7 separate regions of the Homo sapiens genome follow, and all the other regions are linked to region 7. Evidence: promoter capture Hi-C in 16 types of primary human blood cells and fetal thymus (Javierre and others, 2016). All regions are on one chromosome and are shown on one strand. The core of a region is centred on a gene start or on the middle of the fragment in contact, and the rest is flanking DNA. Distances in the headings are between cores, read along the strand shown.

Region 1 (2,700 bases), core at 112-2,611, 1.4 Mb after region 7:
GAACATCCACTTATTTTGGCATTATTATTTTTTAAATTTACTTTTAACACCACTCAGTGATCATCAACATTGCTTTAAAAAAGAACCTTTTCCCCACTCCACAGATATTTTGCCACGTGTCCATATTTGGGAGAGGCTTTTTGGAACAGGGCAACTGAAAGATTTTTCCAAACTCAGAGGAGATGGGGAAGAATCCAAAGAGATGGAAGTTAACAGCAACAGAGGTCAAAACAGTTCAGAATTTCTAAGAGGAAAATGCAGGAATGTTTTTTAACACATTTATTAAAAGGCATCTCTTGGAATCCCAACTCAAGTTTCCTCCTCCCTGTGAATAAGCAATCAATCTTACCACAGCTGCTCTCAGAGGCACAGAACCCAAGCTTGCTCTGAAGTTAGTTGGGTGGAACTCACTTACGAAAGTCTTGGGAGAGGACTAGGCTGGGGAAATGGGCCTCACTCTGCACAAACACACAGGAAAGGCTGAGTTACTCCATGAGTAAGCCAGTCAAGCAGGTTTGGAGAGTTTGTTAAATGGAGTTTACAATTTGGGAGATCATGTAAGTGTAAGTCCATCAGGGATCCAAACCTGCTGGAGTACAGGTGTAGACTTCTTGTCAAGCACGTACTTTGAATACAAAAGTTCTAAGGTAGGAAGTAACTATGTTATGTAGGGAAGAAGAATATTGTTTCTCCTTAACCCACTAGCCTGGGAAGTCAATATGAATCACATTGAGTACTCTTTCACATTGCTCAAGAGGCGCTCGGCTGGAGCTTCCTATATTCAATTAAAACACACACACACAAAAACACATGACAATAATTCGCTTTTGGGAAGGAGGTTAAAAAAGAAAAGTATATTCTCTACTCTTTCCTCAAGTTTGCATGATCACACCTAGACTTATTTTTAGGGGAAAACAGTGTAGGGGATTGTAAACCAAGTCACTTCCATGGCATCTCAGAGAGAGAGGGTATAAGGATTTAGTTTTTCCTCATTCAAACACTCCTGAAGTGATTCCCCTTGAAATTGAGGAGCCACTTACTCATCAGTGTTGAGGCACTGGAAAGAAAATAGAAAATAATTAATAATGTAGATAAAGATACATTTTTGCTGAGGGCTAAAGCAGAACTTTCTAATATGTAACACTAGCCAGATATGTAATTTAAAACTTTTCTGCAAGCCCATTAAAAATGCAAAATAAAGTAGGTATAACTCTTCACCTTATTTTAACTATATTTTATGGAACCTCATATATTGAAATTAATGAAATAATTTATATTTGTTTCATACCAAGTCTTTGAACATCCAGTGCATATTTTAAACATATAGTACATGTCAACTCTAATGCTACATTTTTATCAGAAATACTTGATCTGTTTTTAGATTTCATAAAATGTATATTTGTAAAAAGTAGATTCATAATCAAGTTGTTCTAAACATGCCTGTTTTTCAATACATGGATCTAATGTTCAGTTTTTAATTTAAATTTAAATTAGTTAAAATTAAATTCAGGTCCTTAGTCATATTAGTCACATTTCAAGCACTCAGTAACCACTTGCCACTGATGGTTATTCTATTGGATCACCCACGTAAGCATGTGTTTTTGGTTTTAGAGTTCATACACACACACAGATCTGGTTATCCTTCCTCTTTAAGGACCTGACCACCAGATTTATGCCAAAAAATTAAAGTAACAACTTTACATTTATTTCTGTAATATCAGTAGTAATATCTCCTCTTTCATTCATGAATTTAGTTATTTGTCTTCTCTCTTTTTTTTCCTTGGTTTCTTTTTTCCTTGACATTTCCTTGTTGGGAGGTTTATGGTTAGCAATTCAATCTCTTCACTTGCTATTAGTTTTTTTGAGCTTTTTTTTTCCCTTAAGTAAGTTAAGAACCAACTTTTGGTTTCATTGATTCTCTCTTTTGTTTTTCTAGTCTATATTTCATTTGTCTCCACGATAATCTTCATTATTTCTTTCTTTCTGCTAACTTTGGATTTAGTTTGTTGTTCTTTTTCTAGTTCATTACAGTAGAAGATTGGATTATTGATTTGAGATCTTACTTCTTGATAATATAAGCAATTACAATTATAAAATTCCCTGTAAGCACTGCTTTAGCGATATTCATAAATTTTCGTATATTTTCATTTTTGTTATTTATTTATTTATTTGTGATGAGGGCCATGCTATGTTGCCTAGGCTGGCCTCAAACTCCTGGGTACAAGCAATCCACCCACCCCAGCCTTCCAAGTAGCTGGGACTACAGGCATGCATCACTGTGCTCAGCTTTATTTTTCTTTCTTCTTCTTTTTTTCATGAGACAGAGTCTCACTCTAAGCTTTATTTTTATTAATTCTCTTTTTTTTATAAGACAGAGTCTCACTCTGTCACCCAGGCTGCATTTTAATTATTATCAAACTATTTTCTAACTTCCCTAATGATTTCTTCTTTAATCCATTGGTTATTTAGGAGTGTGCTTAATTTCCTCATAATTTATAAGTTTTCCCCAAATTGTGGTTGGGGAAGACACATTATCTTTCAATATTTTTAAATTTATTGAGATTTGTTTGGGCCTAACATGTGATCTAGCCTGGAGAATGTTCTACATGCACTTGAGAAGAATGTGTATTCTACTTTTGTTGGTGGAGTGTTCTGTATATGTCTATAAGGTCTAGTTGGTTTATATACCACTGTTCAATT
Region 2 (2,700 bases), core at 26-2,525, 1.3 Mb after region 7:
TTTTTTTTGAGACAGAGTCTCGCTCTTGTTGCCCAGGCTGGAGTGCAATGGCATGATCTCGGCTCACTGCAACATCCGCCTCCCAGGTTCAAGCAATTCTCCTGCCTCAGCCTCCTGAGTAGCTGGGATTACAGGCATGCACCACCACACCCAGCAAATTTTGTATTTTTAGTAGAGATGGGGTTTCTCCATGTTGGTCAGGCTGGTCTCAAACTCCCAACCTCAGGTGATCCGCCCACCTCAGCCTCCCAAAGTGCTGGGATTACAGGCGTGAGCCACCGCGCCTGGACTTAGATTTCTTACCGTCATAATTTTGCAAGAGCAATTTCAATACCAAATGTACAGTAGTCCTGATCCTGTCAAAGGACTCCAGTACTGAGGAAAGGGTGAGCTGAATAATCTCCAAGGCCCCTCTAACTCAGAACCTGTGAGGATCTCAACTTCACTTTTCTGCAGGGCTCTGTGTGTGTTTCAGGCTAAAAAGTTGTGCTATGTTTTAAATGTCCAACCCCTTCAATGGATCTTTGCAAATGCATGTATTGGGAGACATTAGGAGATAACCTCAGAAGCCTAGACCTCAAATCAAATGTCAAAAGACATTTTTGAGCTAATTCTGGAGGAATTTGAGTATGGGTCAGAATTATATGATATTGAGAAGTTATTATTTATTTTCTCTTTTAAAAAACAATTTTAATATTTTTAAAAATATCTTTATTGAGATGGGGTTTTACTATGTTGCCCAGGCTGGTCTTGAACTCCTGGGCTTAAGAAATCCTCCAGCCTCAGCCTCCCAAAATCCTGGGATTGCAGGTATGAGCCACCATGCCCGGCCTGAGAAGTCATTATTAACATGTAATAAAGGCACAGAAGAAATGCCCCATGTAGGCGGAAATGACTAGAAACCTGGATATTTGCCTTTTTCAAGCAAAAATTTCAGCAAAGACAAACACAAAAAATGAAAGTATGATAATTTTTCTATAGCAAAATCTTCTTTTCTCCCCCTTGGCATGTGAATAAGAGCTATGTGGCAAAATCTTGATAATTGTTGAATCTAAGTAGTGGATAAATAAGGATTCATTATACTATTCTCTTTACTTTTGTATATATTTACATTTTTCAATAATAAGAAGAGTTTCGAGTTTACATCTGTGTCCACCCCCCATGGTTATGACATTAGGGTCAAAAGCACCTTCGGAGCCCTCACCCTCACTCCGCATGGGTGGTAAAGGCTGGACTGGAAGGACGGGCCTTACCGGGCACAGCATCTGCTTCCTGGCCCGGGAAGAGCCAGCAACATCTTGAGGAAATAAATGCATACAAAGATCAACAGCTTGAAGGGGTGGATTTCAGGGCCCGTGTGCTTCACAGTGAGTCATCACTTCCACAGTCACAATTTCTCACTTAGAAGGAATCCAAAAAAGCACCCCTAACCATTGGATTCCAAACTTCATTGGGTTCTTCTGGGGTTTATTAAACCCACAGATTCCGGGGCTCCCAACTAGACCCATAGAATAGACTGAGCAGTGGCGGGGCCCCGGAATCTGTGTTAATTTATTTCTCTGGTGATTCTGGGACAGCCCTGAACTGGGGGCCTGGGAGCCTCTGAAGTGGATCAACGTCCCAATCCCACAAAGGAGAACGTGGCCCAGAAGGGCTTTGTAACCGGCCGAAGGTGACATCCCTGCGGCTTCCTCCCTCACTTTTCACAGCCATGCCCTCCCTGAGAGACCCCTCAGAAAGAGTGGGCCCCTGGAAACGCGCCAGCACAGGAAAGAAGACAGCCAAACACTCTCCATGAATGCACGCCCCGTCCTTGGCCTGGGGGACTCGCAGCACCCCTGAGCACCCGTGCCTGGCAGATGCAGCCACGCTCCTTGCCTTCAGGTCCCTCACACGGTGTCAGGCCTAAAGCAGCCCAGCTTCTGCCTCTGATCCGGCCTCTGTGATATTGACCCCTGTCTCCTGCTAAGCAGCTCTTAGATGGGAGATGTTCTAATGGGAAAGAAGACAGGGAGGAGCCAGAGGATATCTGTTACAGCCATTACTTTCCACTCAGGATCCTATTTTGCATCTTCACTCGAGGCCTATAAATTGAACCTTGAGGGCGGGTCCCAGAAATCCGCAGCTAGAAGTTCATAAAACCAGGTCGGGTTGCCTTGGGCCAATTAAAGTGAAACACTGCCACCAAGTGGCCATTCTAGGTCATCACAGGCTGCCAGCTCCTTCCAGAGCACCTGCCTCTCTGCCAGAGACAAACAGCATGACAGAGCAGGTGGGCATGCCCTTCCCTTCTTTTTCTTAAAATTATTTTACTTATATTAATAGAAATACATTCACATGGTATAAAACGCATAAGGTCCAAAGTGGTCCTGGTGGTTGCCTCCAGAGCTAATGTAGATCCAGCTGAATGCCTCGTTAGGGGTCTCCATTAGGTCTTTAACCCTGTTATGCCTGCCATCTCACCAGTATCGTCTGTTGCTCCTTGTCCATAGGGGTTCTGTTCCCAAGTGCCCAGTGCTAACCTGCCTCTTGGAGTTTACTACAAATCTGGGTTGATTCAGCAACACCAAAGACCTGAGGCTAAATAAATTCTGCAACTCCTACCAGCCTTCCTGGTTCTGAACAACCCTGAGTATCCACCCATGGGTAGAGTGATAATCAAATGAGCCTCAGTTATCCTGAGAGCCCAGGTAAGCAAAA
Region 3 (2,700 bases), core at 86-2,585, 1.4 Mb after region 7:
CACCTGCCTTGGCCTCCCAAAGTGCTGGGATTACGAGCGTGAGCCACCTTGCCCGGCCTCATTTAGGTAAATTTAAGAAAAATAGGATTGGTGTATTGTCTACTGAGAATGGGAACCATCACATTTTATCTTAGCTGGATGGAGCCCCAGGGATTTAGCAGATAGTCACACTGAACAATACCTTCCTGCCCAGGTGTGCGTCACCTTTCTCCCCATAGGCCACAGATTTGAGGCCCTGCCCACTTTTCTTTCAGGTTCATGAGGAAGCCCAGTTTCGGAGCCCTTAACTGACCTCCTCAGGCCTTGAGGATGGGTTAATGATGGGAGGAGGGCCTGAAACTTTGGTCCTGATGCCTTGATGGGTCTCAAATTATCCCATGCTGTAAGTCTAGAATCCCATGGGCTGAACTGGGTGGAAGGGGGAGGTGAGCTATATAGCTATCTATGGCTATTACGACAATAGTTTGCACTTATTCAAGAAATAATAGGTGCTGGGTGCAGTGGCTCATGCCTATAATCCTAGCACTTTGGGAGGCTGAGGCAGTCGGATTGCTTGAGCCCAAGAGTTTGAGACCAGCCTGGACAATATGGTGAAACCCCCATCTCTGCAATTTTTTTAAAAAAAATTAGCTGGGTGTGGTGGGGTGCACCCGTAGTCCCAGCTACTTGGGAGGCTGAGGTGGAAGGATCACCTGAGACCAGGGAGGTCAAGGCTGCAGTGAGCCATGATTGTACCACTGCAATCCAGCCTGGGTGACAGAGTAAGAACCTTTCTAAAATAAAATAAAATAAAATAAGAAAAGGAAGAATAGGGCACTTACAATGATAATAGCTAATGTATTGAGTATTGAGTGTTTTAAGTACCCAGCCCCATTCCAACAATTGCACAAGTATTCTCGTTAGATCCTCACAAAACCCTAAGAGGCTCTGAGAGTCTGCATAAACTGCTCAAGTTCCCAATCTAGAAATAGGGGAATTAGGATTAGAACCAGGCAGTCTGACTTCAGAGCTCTTACAAAAAAAAAGAAATCAAAATATATATAGACCAAACCGAAAATGACAATATGTACTTTTTATCACCCCACATCAGAAGTTCATGATATCTGGTGGACCCATGTATAGTAAATTGTTGATTTGGATTAGTATTGGCCTGACGTGTTTTTTTCCCCCAAGACATGGTCTCACCCCATCACCCAGGCTGTACTATAGTAGCACGATCATAGCTCATTGTAATCTTGAACTCCTGGGCTCAAGCAGACCTCCCACCCCAGCCTCCCAGTTAGCTGGGACTACAGGCATGCACCACTGTGCCTGGCTATTTCTTTTTTCAGAGGCAGGGGTATCACTATGTTGCCCAGGCTGATCTCCAACTCCTGGCCTCAGGAGATCCTCCTGCCTCAGCCCTGACATCTTTATTATGCGTTTTACTGTTTCCCCTGTGGCAATATGTCATCTGCACACTGTGAATTTGGCTCCATACGACGTCCAGCACCCCATAAGCTACCCAACCAGTGATTTAATTCCAATTGATTATCCCTGCTCAAAGGATCACAAAATCATGCTTTTCAAATTCTATCATTTTTATATTTGTTGCTGGCATTGATATATAAGGTATAGCTTCTTCTTAACAACTGGGGCTATTTAGTTACCCTGAATGCAATTCCTTATGAACAATATAAATGCTTATTTTCTCCCTTTTTAGGTTTTTTTCAGAGTTTCCTTTTTTCTTTCTTTCTTTTTTTTTTCTTTTTTTCTCTTTTTGAGACAGGGTTTCACTCTATTGCCCAGGCTGGTGTGCAGTGGCACGATCTAGACTCACTGCAACCTCTGCCTCCTGGGCTCAAGCGATCCTCCCACCTCAGCCTTTCGAGTAGCTGGGATTACAGGCACACGCCACCATACCAGCTAATTTTTGTATTTTTAGTAGAGACAGGGTTTCGCCATGTTGCCCAGGCTGGTTTCTAACTGCTGGGCTCAAGCCATCTGCCTGCCGCAGCCTCCTAAAGTGCCGGGATTACTGGCGTGAGCCACTGTGCCCGGCCTAGAGTTTCCGTTTTTAAGTATCATTATAGACTCATGAATTTTTGAAGGTTTTATGTGTTTCAATCGATTATAAACATTGTTCTTTCCCAGGCCACTCCTATATCCTTTGGCTATAAACTTAGGTAGGTTTAAAAACTTCATTGTTTCTAGCACAAGAAGTCCTAGGTGTAACCTGTGGGGTTCCTTTCAGGGGGGATGGTATTTACCAGCCAGGCTTTCAGAGCTCTTAGATACCTACCCTCTGCATTGCCTCCATGCACAGCCCTATGCCCCATGCAGGAGAGCCCATGGTTCACAAAACAGTGTCCTCTATGAGGGTTGGCCTGGCAACAGGACAGTGTGGCCTGGGACAGCCTCGCTGAGGAGCTAAGATCTGAGCAAAGAGAAAGAGCCAGTCCAGGGGCCAGTCCAAATTCAAGTGAAAATGTCCTGTGGCCAGAACAGATCTGGAGGACTTGGAAGATTTGTGAGCAAAGAAGAAAGAGAACAAGATGAGGTGAGAGCCAGGCATTGAGCCACATTCCTATACTAACAAAGAACAGTGACACCAATATCTCAGTATGTACAGCTATCATAAGAGGAAGCCGATAAGTAGGATTTTTTCTTTCAGTAATTAGAATTTATATTTTGAGTGAATGAATGGGATTTACCTGGAAT
Region 4 (2,700 bases), core at 14-2,513, 1.5 Mb after region 7:
GGTTTTTCTCTTCTCATCAAAAATAAGCTTTTAGACTTCAATTTTCACCTCCCTGTTCCATCACATGGAGAAACGCTCTTTTGCCTGAAGCCCATTTAAGCAAATAAATATCATGCCAAGGAGTGTCCCTCAAAATAGCAGCATGGCTAAGGGGTGGATCAGTAAGAAATTGTAATAAGCCCCTCATCACTCCAGATATGCAGCTTCAGGCAGAATGGAGTCACACGCCACGAAAACCAGGTATGAACGCTTGCCAGCACCACTGCCCAAGGAAACTGAATTTGAAGCAAAAATCAAGTCACTCAGAAAAACACATAGCCCCAAATCCCAGGCTTACAACTGCTCCTGGCAGGCTGAAACTTCTTGTTGGTAAGCCAACAAGAAGCACGGGCCTCTACTCTAAAGACTATGCTTACGGCTGGGCGCAGTGGCTCACGCCTGTAATCCCAACACCTTGGGAGGCCAAGGCGGGCAGATCACCTGAGGTCGGGAGTTTGAGACCAGCCTGACCAACACGGAGAAACCCCGTCTCTACTAAAAACACAAAATTAGCTGGGCATGGTGGCGTATGCCTGGAATCCCAGCTACTCAGGAGGCTGAGGCAGGAGAATTGCTTGAACCCAGGAGGTGGAGGTTGCAGTGAGCCGAGATCATGCCATTGCACTCCAGCCTGGGCAACAAGAGCAAAACTCTGTCTCAAAAAAGAAAAAAAACCTATGCTTACTAGCCTGGAGCATAGTCTTTAGAGTGGGGGCCCATCCCATGCTTCCTTCCCTAGGAGTTGAAATTATTATAATTACAGTCATAAAATCTCTCAGGACTAATTAGGGCACCATCTTGAGTTGATTGCTCCTACCTGTGGGGTAAGAGGGCTCCCGCACAGGGTTCCTATTTAGTCGGTAAATCGAGGCTCCACACATTCAATCTTACAGAACAATTAGAGATAATAAGGAGAAAATTGTAAAATTGCACACAAGCTTCTGTGATGTTCAATTTGATACTTAATATGCTAAAAGTACAGCTATTATCTATGGAGAGCCCCATGCCGCAGGCTGCCTGTCCTCCTTAATGGGATTCAAGCCTTTACAACTACACTCTGTCTGCTTCTTCCTTTCCACCCATCAGAGAGGGGTCTCTGATTCTCAATTACAGAAGGGCCTGCGGGCACCTGTTCTTGTTATTGCTGAGGTTGTTTGTTTGTTTGTTTGTTTGTTTGTTTTTAATGCTTGTGTCTATTTCTCTGAGGTCAGGAAACAGGTTTAGGGTCTGTCAAGGTGAAGTTGGAAGACAGGAAGCCACAGTGGCTTAGAAATCACCCATCCAGAAGGTTAGGCCACTGCATAGAGTCAGTTGGCCCTTAGAAAAGTGCACCAAGACATCACAGAGTCCAGTCCTAGGCTGGGTGGAGGCCTTCTATGTCTAGCCTCACGAATTTTACAAAATTTATACATGACCACATATGGAAACTGATCTAGAGTTCAAATAACCCAGACGTCGATGGTGTGGGTTCTCAAATTTGAGCATGCATTGGAATCACCCGGAAAGCTTGTGAAAATACAGATTGGTAGCCCCCACCCTTGGAGTTTCTAATTTAGTAAATCGAAATAATTTGCATTTCTAACGAGTTTCCAGGTGACGCTGATGGAGCTGGTCTGAGGTTCACTCTTAGAAACTGTCTGCTTTAAAGAATAAAATTGTGAGTAGATTGGCATGCCTTCCCCTGCCCCCACACAGATTTAAAAAGGAATCTGGTCACCCTTCTTTGTCTCCAGACGGAGTCTCCACTGCTGGTCCGACCATATTTACCTTACATCACCAAGTCTGAACTCCACGCCATCATGACCGCCGGGTTCTCTACCATTGCTGGAAGCGTGCTAGGTGCATACATTTCTTTTGGGGTAAGAATGTTTTGGAATTATGAAAACACCAACCTCTTCTTTCTTTATTATTGTTATTTCTTTTCTTTTCCATTGCTGGTGGAAAAAGGAGGCCAAGAGAGTGTCTTTTTTTGCCATATGGCAAAAGTTGGTCACAGTTGCTTTGGCATTTGAACATAGGGATCCCAAGGAGTTTCAGGGCTTCATATACCTGCTGCCTAAATGTGAGTTCTATCTGCAGAATAAAAACAGAAAAATGCAATCATATGATAAAGTTGCTTTGGTTGAAAATTTAAATCTGTTAAAAAAAAAATTATTACATCAGTCAAGGTGATCTGGACTGGGAGTCAGTAAACTATGGCCCATGGGCCAAATCCCAATTGCTCCTGTTTTTGGAAATGAATTATTGGAAAGCAACTACTTCTATTCATTTGTCTCTGGCAGCTTTCATGCTACAGAGTTGAGTCGTTGTGATCCACAAAGACAACAATATTTATTCTCTGGCCCTTTACAGAAAAACTTTTCTGACCCCTGGTCTAGAGCAGTGATTCTCAAACCTTTCTGCACGTTAGAATCACCTGGGAGCTTTTAAATTCTCTAATGCCCAGGTCCATATCTCAGAGTAATTAAACTACAGTTCCTTGGGATGAGACCCAGCCATCAATATTTTTTAAAACTCTCAGATTCTAATGTACAGCCAAGTTTGAGAGTTGGCAGTCTGTAGTATAAGGCTAGAGAATGTTATAACTGGTGCGTGCACCCCGACCCATAGAGCTTACAAGCCACACATAGACACAGTCCCCAATATTGAAACTGAGTAACA
Region 5 (2,700 bases), core at 66-2,565, 1.4 Mb after region 7:
TCTTTGTTCATAGATGATTGTCTATGTAGAAAATCTGAAAGGATCAACCAAAAAAAATCCTAGAACTAATAAGCAATCATAGCAAAGTTATAGGATACAAGGTTAATATACAAGAAGTTAATCACTTTTCTGTATACCAGTGATACAGTTTGGAAGTTTTTTCCCTTCCAAATCTCGTGTTCAGCCAGGTACAGTGGTTCATTCCTATAATCCCAGTTCTTTGGGAGGCTGAGGCAGGAGGATCACTTCAGCCCAGCAATTGAGCTCCTTCGTATTTATCCAGAAGAGCTGAAAATGTATATCTACACCAAAACCTGCACACAGATGTTTATAGTAGCTCTATCAATAATTGCCCAAACTTAGAAGCAACCAAGATGTCTTTCAGTAGGTGATGGATAAAATGTGGTACATTCAGACAATGAAATATTATTTAGCACTAAGAAGAAATGAGCTATCAAGCCATGAAAAGACATTAACCTCCTTAATGTGCATTTTGGCTTCTTAATTGCACATTACTAAGTGAAAGAAACCAATCTGAAAAGCCTACATGTTATTTGATTCCAATTATATGACATTCTGGACAAGGCAACACTGTGGAGATATTACAGTCCATAGATTGTAACAAGTGTACCACCCTGGTGGGGGATGTTGATAATGAGGGAGGCTGAGCATGTGTTGGGGCAGAAAGTATATGGGTAATCTCTACTTTCCACTCAAGTTTTCTGAGAACCTAAAACTGCCTTAAAAAATAAAGTCAGGCTGGGTACGGTGGGTCATGCTTATAATCTCAACATTTTGGGAGGCCAAGGTGGGTGTATGACTTGAGCTCAGGAGTTTGAAACCAGCCTGGGCAGCATAGTGAAACTTCATCTCTCCAAACAATACAAAAATTAGCCGGGCATGGTGTCACACTCCTGTAGTTCCAGCTACTCTGGAGGCTGAGGTGGGAGGACTGCTTGAGCCCAAGAGTTGGAGGTTGCAGTGAGTTAAGATGGCGCTACTGTACTCCAGCCTGGGTGACAGAGTGAGACTCTGACTCAAAAAATAAGTAAGTAAAGTCAAGAAATTAAAAAAAAAAGAAAGAAGGGAGGGAGGGAGAGAGAAAATTAACTCAGGTGCCTCCCCAGGATATTGAGATATCATTGCCCTGGGGGGCCTTCTCGCCCCCAACAAGGACCCTCTTGCACCCATGTTTGGGAACCACTGGCTTATGTGAACAGACCCCTGTCATTTATTATCTCTGTGACCCTATGATGTTGGGAAAATTCCTTCACTCTGGCCTCAGTTGTATTACCCACAAAACAAGGGTAATCGCTTCTTCATGGAATTCTAGGAGGGATTAAATGAGGATTCAAGGTATGTAAAGTACTCAACATTGTAATTCCTTTTCCTATCCCTAAGGAATAAGGTTTTGGTCTAAGGGCATTTAGGGACTCACCTAAGATTTTTAATGAAGAAAATGATGTGACTTGCTTTATCTAGAAAAATCATTGATTAGAAAAGTAATTTCATCAGCTATATGGAGATCGATGGAGGGAGGATAAGAGAGCCAGCTTGAGGCCCTGGGAAGAGTTCGTTGACAGCTTCTTGCAGTAGTCAAATGAGAGATAGTAAGACCTGAGGTAGTGGAATGGAAAAAGAAGGGACACATACATTTGAGAAAAACTTAAGAGGTAGATGGGACAAGTTTGGTGACTCAGAGTCAGCCTTGATTCTTGTCTCTCCTTCACAGCCCACATCTGCTCTGATAGCAGGTCTTATCTCCCCTACCACGACACAACCAGTTCTGCACTGCTCAGCCCCGGGCTCTCAGACTGTTATGATTAGCATCTAATGTTCTTCTTGCTTTCAACCCTAATCCATTCTCTACAGAGCAGCCAAAATGTTATTTAGAAATGTAAATAAAATCACATCCACTCCCCATCTCAAAATCCTCACATTGAATAAAATCAAATTCTTTAATCTGGCTTTCAGGACTTGGCTCTGATTTCCTCTCCCACCTCATTGCCAATGTTCCCCCACTTCTGTGCTCCAGCCTTTCTGTTTTTCACCAGCTAAGCTCAGGCCCACCCAAGAATGCCTGGAACTACCACTTTTCTATGCTGAGAATTCTTTCCCTGCCCTCCCATCAACCAAGCCCCTCCCTGGCCTCATCCCTTCCCCATGTCCCAAATATAGTGCTCCCCCCATAATTGCCAGCAACAGTGGTTCAACATCAGTGCAAAATAGTTGTCCATTATCTTAAGAAATTGAACACTCATGTCAATATCAGGCTTAATTGTATACCCCAAGAATTATTGCACATGTGCACAAAAAACATATTCAAGAATGTTCTTAGCATTGTTCATGATAAAAAGAACTGGAACAATTCAAATGTTCATCAGTGGAAGTTTGGATAAGTAAATGGTAGCATTGATACAATGGAATACTATACAGCAATAAAAATAAATAAACCGGCAGGGCACAGTGGCTCACACCTGTAATCCCAGCACTTTGGGAGGCCGAGGCGGGAGGATCGCCTGAGGTCAGGAATTCGAAACCAGCCTGGCCAACATGGTGAAACCCTATCTGTACTAAAAATACAAAAATTAGCTGGGCATGGTGACTGTAATCCCAGCTATTCTGGAGGCTGAGGCAGAAGAATTGCTTGAACCCAGGAGACGGAGGTTGCAGTGAGCCGAGATCGCACCACTGCACTCC
Region 6 (2,700 bases), core at 102-2,601, 1.4 Mb after region 7:
TTCATTTTATAAGTTGAAAATCAGTGTGATGTGATAGAAAGGAGAGTGGAAACCTGCCCCTGGTCCCAGCTCTGCCTATTGGAAAGTTATCAGGCCGAGATGAGGGCAATTGTCCTCATTCCTCTCTTCCCCTGGACCACTTTTGTATCAGAACAAAACAAAGCAAAAGTCATATGTTTCTTTTCTTTACTTTCTTTTCTTTTCTTTTTTTTTTTTTTCAGGTAGAGTCTTGCTGTGTCTCCCAGGCTGGAGTGCAGTGGCATGATCTGCCTCTGGGGCTCAAGCAATTCTCCTACCTCAGCCTCCCAAGTAGCTGGGATTATAGGTGCACAACACCACGCCCAGCTAATTTTTATATTTTTAGTAGACACAGGATTTTGCCCAGGCTGGTCTCCCCTCCCACTTCGGCCTCCCATCATGCTGGGATTACAGGTACGAACCACTGTGCCCAGCCGATCATCTGTTTCTTTACAAGCCCAGGATTTGTCAGCTGTTTGTTGAATCGGATGCTTCATCTGAACACCTAATCTTTGTTTGTCTCATCCTCCAAATTCCTCTAGGTATTTTTCATGAAAGAACATCTGTCTTTTGGCTGTAACTTTTTATTTTTTCAATCTGCACTTTTTTCTTAGAATGAAGAAAACTTTCTTGAGAACGAGAACACATCAGGAAACAACTCAATAAGAAGCAGAGCTGTGCAAAGCAGGGAGCACACAAACACCAAACAGGTACAGCAAGACTGTGGTGCATGACTCTAGTACCATGGCAGCCGCTGCGCAACAGGCACCTGAGAACAGTGGGCACAGAAAGCATGGCGCCCCACTGGCACGCAGAGGAACAGATTAAGTGGTAATTAAAGTGTGTGGGGGCATAGTCGTAAAGAAAACACACACGCCCAAACAAAGAGATTTTGTTTTTATCCACCTGTCCTCAGAGTTCCCTGATGGGAAGCATCACTTCACTATTAGGAGTTCCAAGCTCCATCTCAAGGAAAAAGGCATTGGCTTAGACAAAAGCATCTGAGCTTTAACGTAAATGACAGAAACAAGAGGAACCCTCTACTATGGTTCTGAATCTGGGTCCATCATGCACTCGCATTCCTTAGTAGCTTTATACCAGTCCGAGGGACTCTTGCTTAATTTCACTTACATGTTGAATTCTGGACAGGAGTTTATTTAAAGATGGCTTCCTGTTGCCAAAAAGGTGAACAAATTACCCATGTAGGTCACCCCTTAAAAGGTAATTCAGGGCCGGGCACGGTGGCTTATGCCTGTAATCCCAGCACTTTGGGAGGCTGAGGTGGGCGGATCACTTGAGGTCAGGAGTTCAAGACCAGCCTGGCCAACATGGTGAAAACCCATCTCTACTAAAAATACAAAAATTAGCTGGGCGTGGTGGCGTGTGCCTGTAATCCCAGCTACTCTGGAGGCTGAGGCAGGAGAATCACTTGAACCCAGGAGGTAGAGGTTGCAGTGAGCCGAGATGGCACCACTGTACTCCAGCCTGGGCGACAGAGCGAGATTCTCAAAAAAAAAAAAAAAAAAGGAATTTGGGGTGCCCACTAGTGTGTCATTTTGTGAGGAGTTTTCTCGTGGTAAAAGAATCACTTTTTTTTAAAGTAGACAATTTGGAAAACTTATTGTAGCAAAATTTGGAAAACCAAAAAAGGCTTATAATTCAAGAAAAAAAGTCAGTGCCTAACATTTTGGAACACAGCCTTTTTTAATGCAAACATACACCCACATGCATATGTCATCTGTATTGGAATCATACCATGCATAGTACAGTGTTTGGTAACTGTCTATTTTGCTTAATTGATTGTAAAAAATGTTCACTAAGTATTCTTCAACAAACAAAAAAGAAAACAATACTTATGTCCACATAAAAACCTACACATGGATGTTTAGAGCAGCTTTATTTGTAATTGCCAACACTTGGAAGTAACCAAAATGTCCTTCAGTAGGTGAATGAATAAATAAACTGTGGTACATTCAGACATGCAGTGTCTTTCAGCGCTAAAAAGAAATGAACTATCAAGCCATGAAAAGACATGAAGGAGCCTTAAATGTACATTACTGGGTAAAAGAAGCCAATCTAAAATGGCTACCTATTGTGCGATCCCAACTATACGACATTCTGGAAAATGCAAAACTATGGAGACAGTAAATAGTGCTTTCAAGGCATCAGGGGGTGGTAGGGACAAATAAGAAGTGTGGGGTTTTTTGTTTTTTTGAGATGGAATCTCGCTCTGTCAGCAGGCTGGAGTGCAGTGGCACAATCTCAGCTCACTGCAGTCTCCACCTCCCGGGTTCAGGTGATTCTCCTGCCTCAGCCTCCCGTGTAGTTGGGATTACCGGCACCCGTCACTGTGCCCAGCTAATTTTTTTTTTTGTATTTTTAGTAGAGACGGGGTTTCACCATGTTGGCCAGGATGGTCTTGATCTCCTGACCTTGTGATCCGCCTGCCTTGGCCTCCCAAAGTGCTGGGATTACAGGCATGAGTGACCACGCCTGGCCATAAGAAGATTTTTAGGGCCATGAAACTAGTATGCCTGATACTACAATGGTGGATACATGCCATCATACATGCGTCCAAACCCATAGAATGTACAAGACCAAGAGAGTCTCACTGCAGACTTTGGGTGATGGTGATGTGTCCATGTAGGCTCCTCAGTTGTAACAAATGTACTTCTCTGGGTT
Region 7 (2,700 bases), core at 132-2,631:
ATGCTAACAGTGCTTGTGAAAGTGGGATTCAAATTCCACAAACACACACATCCACATAATATCTTCCTATATTGCAGGTTGACTCATTTAGAAACATGTTCTTTAAGAAAAGTTTCAGGTATATTACATACATATTTAGCATTATTGTAAAATTATTACATTATTATTGGGTATTTTCAGATAATACGTTTCTGATTGGGTGGTTTGGGGTGGTGGTTGTTTCAAAATTATTTTAAATACCGTAACCTATCTTTTAGTGCTCACGATGAGGGAAACTACGATGTTTATAAAATGGCAGTTTCTTGTTCATCTGAATAAAGACATCTACCAAGGGCAAACTGTAAGAAGCACTGTGGTGTACCTTGGGTTACTTTTTGAATTGCTTTCACACCTGCTTAATTTTATTTGAACAAGATCATAAAACAAAACAAAAATCTCACAGTTCTCAATGCATTCCCTTATCTAGTTGTGATATTACATTCCTTACCATAAACAGTAGCAAACATGTTCTTGTGCAACGTGAAAAAGTAAATGATGTCAGTATTTATTTGCAATACATTGCAGTACACTGAAGTACAGTCAAAACAGAAGGGGGTGTATTAGTAATTTCTCTGACACATTACTTTGGCTCAGATAAAACATTCCGCCTTTGCCTTCAGTAGCCAACTTAGCATTACCGTTTTGATTATATGCAGGCACTTTTTCAAAAAACAGTAAATCAGCATGCTATTTTGTTCGCTGCAGCACTAGGCATCTAATTTACTGAGATTTGGCCACAAGGTGCAATCCTGTTGTTTTCTGGGAGCCCGATTGTAGTAACAGCATGTCCCTTCCAGCCTCTTATTATGGACCCTCCTTGAGGTCAGGAAAGGTCTAAGCTTTACCGCAGTCCCCAGCGTTTGATGCGACCCCGGGATCACGTGGGGAGCTTTAAGAACCCTTCCTAAGAAAGTGACTGATTGATGGCGGGGGAGGGGGTGGGCGCGGGCTTAGTTCCGGGAAAAGGCTGGGGCCCTCGTTGGGAGTGTACAGAAAGATGACTTGAAGAACGTGGGGAGTCGCTCGCAGTTCGGTACGGAGGGGCGGTGGCCGGGGCTGCTGGGTACAAGGGACCGGCAGCGCGCGGAACACCCGCCCCTAATTCCCGCTCCCGTGCGCGCTCCGCCCCCACGCGCGCGCTCCCTCCCGTCAGGCGCGCAGAGAGGCGGGGCGCAGCGCGCACGGAGGTAACAAGGGACGCGGCGGGAAGAGGGCGTGCGCTCCGCCCCGCCCCTTTCGCGGCCTCGCACGCCCCGCCCCCACTCCCTGCGCGTGCTGGGAGCCGGCTGGCAAGGCGTGCGGTGGGCGGGGCGCCGCGCTGACGTTGCCCGGGATGCGGACAGGTTCCGCCGCCTCCAGCGCCGCCGCCGCAGCTGCCGCCGCCGCCGCCTCCGCCTCGCCTGCCACCGGGGTTTGTATGAAAACACCGGGCGGCGGGCGGCGAGGGATCCGCCGTGATCCAGGTGCTGAGCCGGGTGCTGCGGCTCTGCGCGGTCCCCGCCAGCGCCCCATCCTGAGCCGGTGAGCGCCCTGCTGCAGTCCTCATGTCCCGGCCGGCCGTCCCTCTGCTCTCCCCGGGCCGCGGGAGATGCGAGCGACGGCGCCCGGGGGTAGGAGGGGCGACCCCGGATCCCTGCGCCCCTTACCTGACGGGTTGTGTAACGCATGTTACACATGTGACGCGTGAGGGGAACGCACTCGGTCTTGAGGGAAAGCCCTGACGGGGTGGGGCTTTGACTGGGTCTGGAAAACGCCTTCCCCAGTCCCCGGACCCTCGGTGGATCCCCGTCCCAGACCTTGCGGAGGGTATCGGGCGCGGTCTCTGGGCGGAGGCCGCCCTTTCTGCTCAGCCCTTTCTCTCGGGCCCGAGCTCGCGGCGCCGCGGGGAGTCCAGCCGAGGGGCTGCAGGGCCGGGGGCGGGCGCGCCCAGCCCCGCTCTCCCCCGCCCCAGTGGTAGCGGGCCGCTGAATCGCGGGCCCCTGTGCTTCGAGAATTCTAGCGTTCCCGACTGAGCGCCAGCAAGGTGGGATTTGCTGTGACATCGGCGATGGGCACGTTTGCTTCCTCTCGCTGGGTGGTTTGAGCTGAAGTGTGTCTTCTGTTTACAACTTGTCGCCTTGAGCGTTTGGTTTGAACCTGAATCAGATCACCCTGGATGACAGTGCAGAGTTTCCTTAGTGTCTTCCTTCCTGAATTGCGGGTTCTCAATTGCAAGTGTTCAAGGACTGTTGTAACCCAAAGGCTTGCTCGACTCTACCGTTGTTTTACCCCTTGTGCGGTATAAACCTCTTACGAGCACCAGGGCAATTGGAGTTGGTTGGGTTCCTTTCTTGGGCGTTTACTCATTGTAGAATGGAGTTTTCATGCATCATAGTGTAATCGATGTGAATGTTGATAATTTAAAGCCCATTTCCCGTTTTAACATAGCTTACTCAAGTGCCTGAAGATAGCGGAAATTTTCTTTGGCAGTATTAATTCTATGTGGGTTTTTTCCTTCAGGTGTTTAACATTGTAGTTGTGTTTAATTACAATGCATGACAATTTGTAGTTAGAAAGGACCTTAACAGTCTTCTTAATCGGTCATTTTCACTTACCTTTTATGTCCGTTTTTTAAGCTTTATGTAAATCAAATTATCCTTTGTGAACTTCTGAATTATTCTT

The links. Contacts are between HindIII fragments. The CHiCAGO score rates a contact against its expected background, and 5 or more counts as called.
Region 1: a fragment that was not itself captured here is called in contact with the fragment with the promoter of AGTPBP1 in region 7 in 3 of 17 cell types (M0 macrophages, M1 macrophages and M2 macrophages); the score reaches 13.9 in M0 macrophages.
Region 2: a contact is called between a fragment that was not itself captured here and the fragment with the promoter of AGTPBP1 in region 7, in 3 of 17 cell types (M1 macrophages, M2 macrophages and M0 macrophages). The highest score is 16.3, in M1 macrophages.
Region 3: a fragment that was not itself captured here is called in contact with the fragment with the promoter of AGTPBP1 in region 7 in 2 of 17 cell types (M0 macrophages and M2 macrophages); the score reaches 9.7 in M0 macrophages.
Region 4: a fragment that was not itself captured here is called in contact with the fragment with the promoter of AGTPBP1 in region 7 in 2 of 17 cell types (total B cells and M0 macrophages); the score reaches 6.6 in total B cells.
Region 5: a contact is called between a fragment that was not itself captured here and the fragment with the promoter of AGTPBP1 in region 7, in 2 of 17 cell types (M0 macrophages and M1 macrophages). The highest score is 18.9, in M0 macrophages.
Region 6: a fragment that was not itself captured here is called in contact with the fragment with the promoter of AGTPBP1 in region 7 in 2 of 17 cell types (M0 macrophages and M1 macrophages); the score reaches 9.9 in M0 macrophages.

The regions. Positions count from the first base shown.
Region 1 is chr9:84,329,340-84,332,039 of GRCh38, reverse strand. The region is part of intron 1 of SLC28A3 (solute carrier family 28 member 3); the gene reads left to right. Among named protein-coding and RNA genes, the nearest start is that of SLC28A3, 10 kb to the left of the region's middle. The HindIII fragment of the contact is 1,958 bases long and covers 383-2,340 here.
Region 2 is chr9:84,396,741-84,399,440 of GRCh38, reverse strand. No RefSeq gene overlaps it. Among named protein-coding and RNA genes, the nearest start is that of SLC28A3, 57 kb to the right of the region's middle. The HindIII fragment of the contact is 7,909 bases long and covers 1-2,700 here.
Region 3 is chr9:84,353,908-84,356,607 of GRCh38, reverse strand. It overlaps a transcript of SLC28A3 not described here. Among named protein-coding and RNA genes, the nearest start is that of SLC28A3, 14 kb to the right of the region's middle. RefSeq lists an enhancer at 1-558. The HindIII fragment of the contact is 3,937 bases long and covers 1-2,700 here.
Region 4 is chr9:84,289,352-84,292,051 of GRCh38, reverse strand. SLC28A3 (solute carrier family 28 member 3) reads left to right here. Exons shown (of 18, transcript NM_001199633.2): 11 at 1,773-1,898. SLC28A3-AS1 (SLC28A3 regulatory antisense RNA 1) reads right to left here. Exons shown (of 2, transcript XR_001746802.1): 2 at 1,916-2,112. Among named protein-coding and RNA genes, the nearest start is that of SLC28A3-AS1, 13 kb to the right of the region's middle. The HindIII fragment of the contact is 568 bases long and covers 980-1,547 here.
Region 5 is chr9:84,375,202-84,377,901 of GRCh38, reverse strand. No RefSeq gene overlaps it. Among named protein-coding and RNA genes, the nearest start is that of SLC28A3, 36 kb to the right of the region's middle. RefSeq lists an enhancer at 971-1,471. The HindIII fragment of the contact is 2,913 bases long and covers 1-2,700 here.
Region 6 is chr9:84,311,387-84,314,086 of GRCh38, reverse strand. It overlaps SLC28A3 (solute carrier family 28 member 3), which reads left to right. Exons shown (of 18, transcript NM_001199633.2): 2 at 633-728. Among named protein-coding and RNA genes, the nearest start is that of SLC28A3, 28 kb to the left of the region's middle. The HindIII fragment of the contact is 7,197 bases long and covers 1-2,700 here.
Region 7 is chr9:85,740,635-85,743,334 of GRCh38, reverse strand. It overlaps AGTPBP1 (ATP/GTP binding carboxypeptidase 1), which reads left to right and starts at 1,381. Exons shown (of 26, transcript NM_001330701.2): 1 at 1,381-1,560. RefSeq lists silencers at 1,058-1,657, 1,728-2,047 and an enhancer at 2,218-2,367. The HindIII fragment of the contact is 1,776 bases long and covers 881-2,656 here.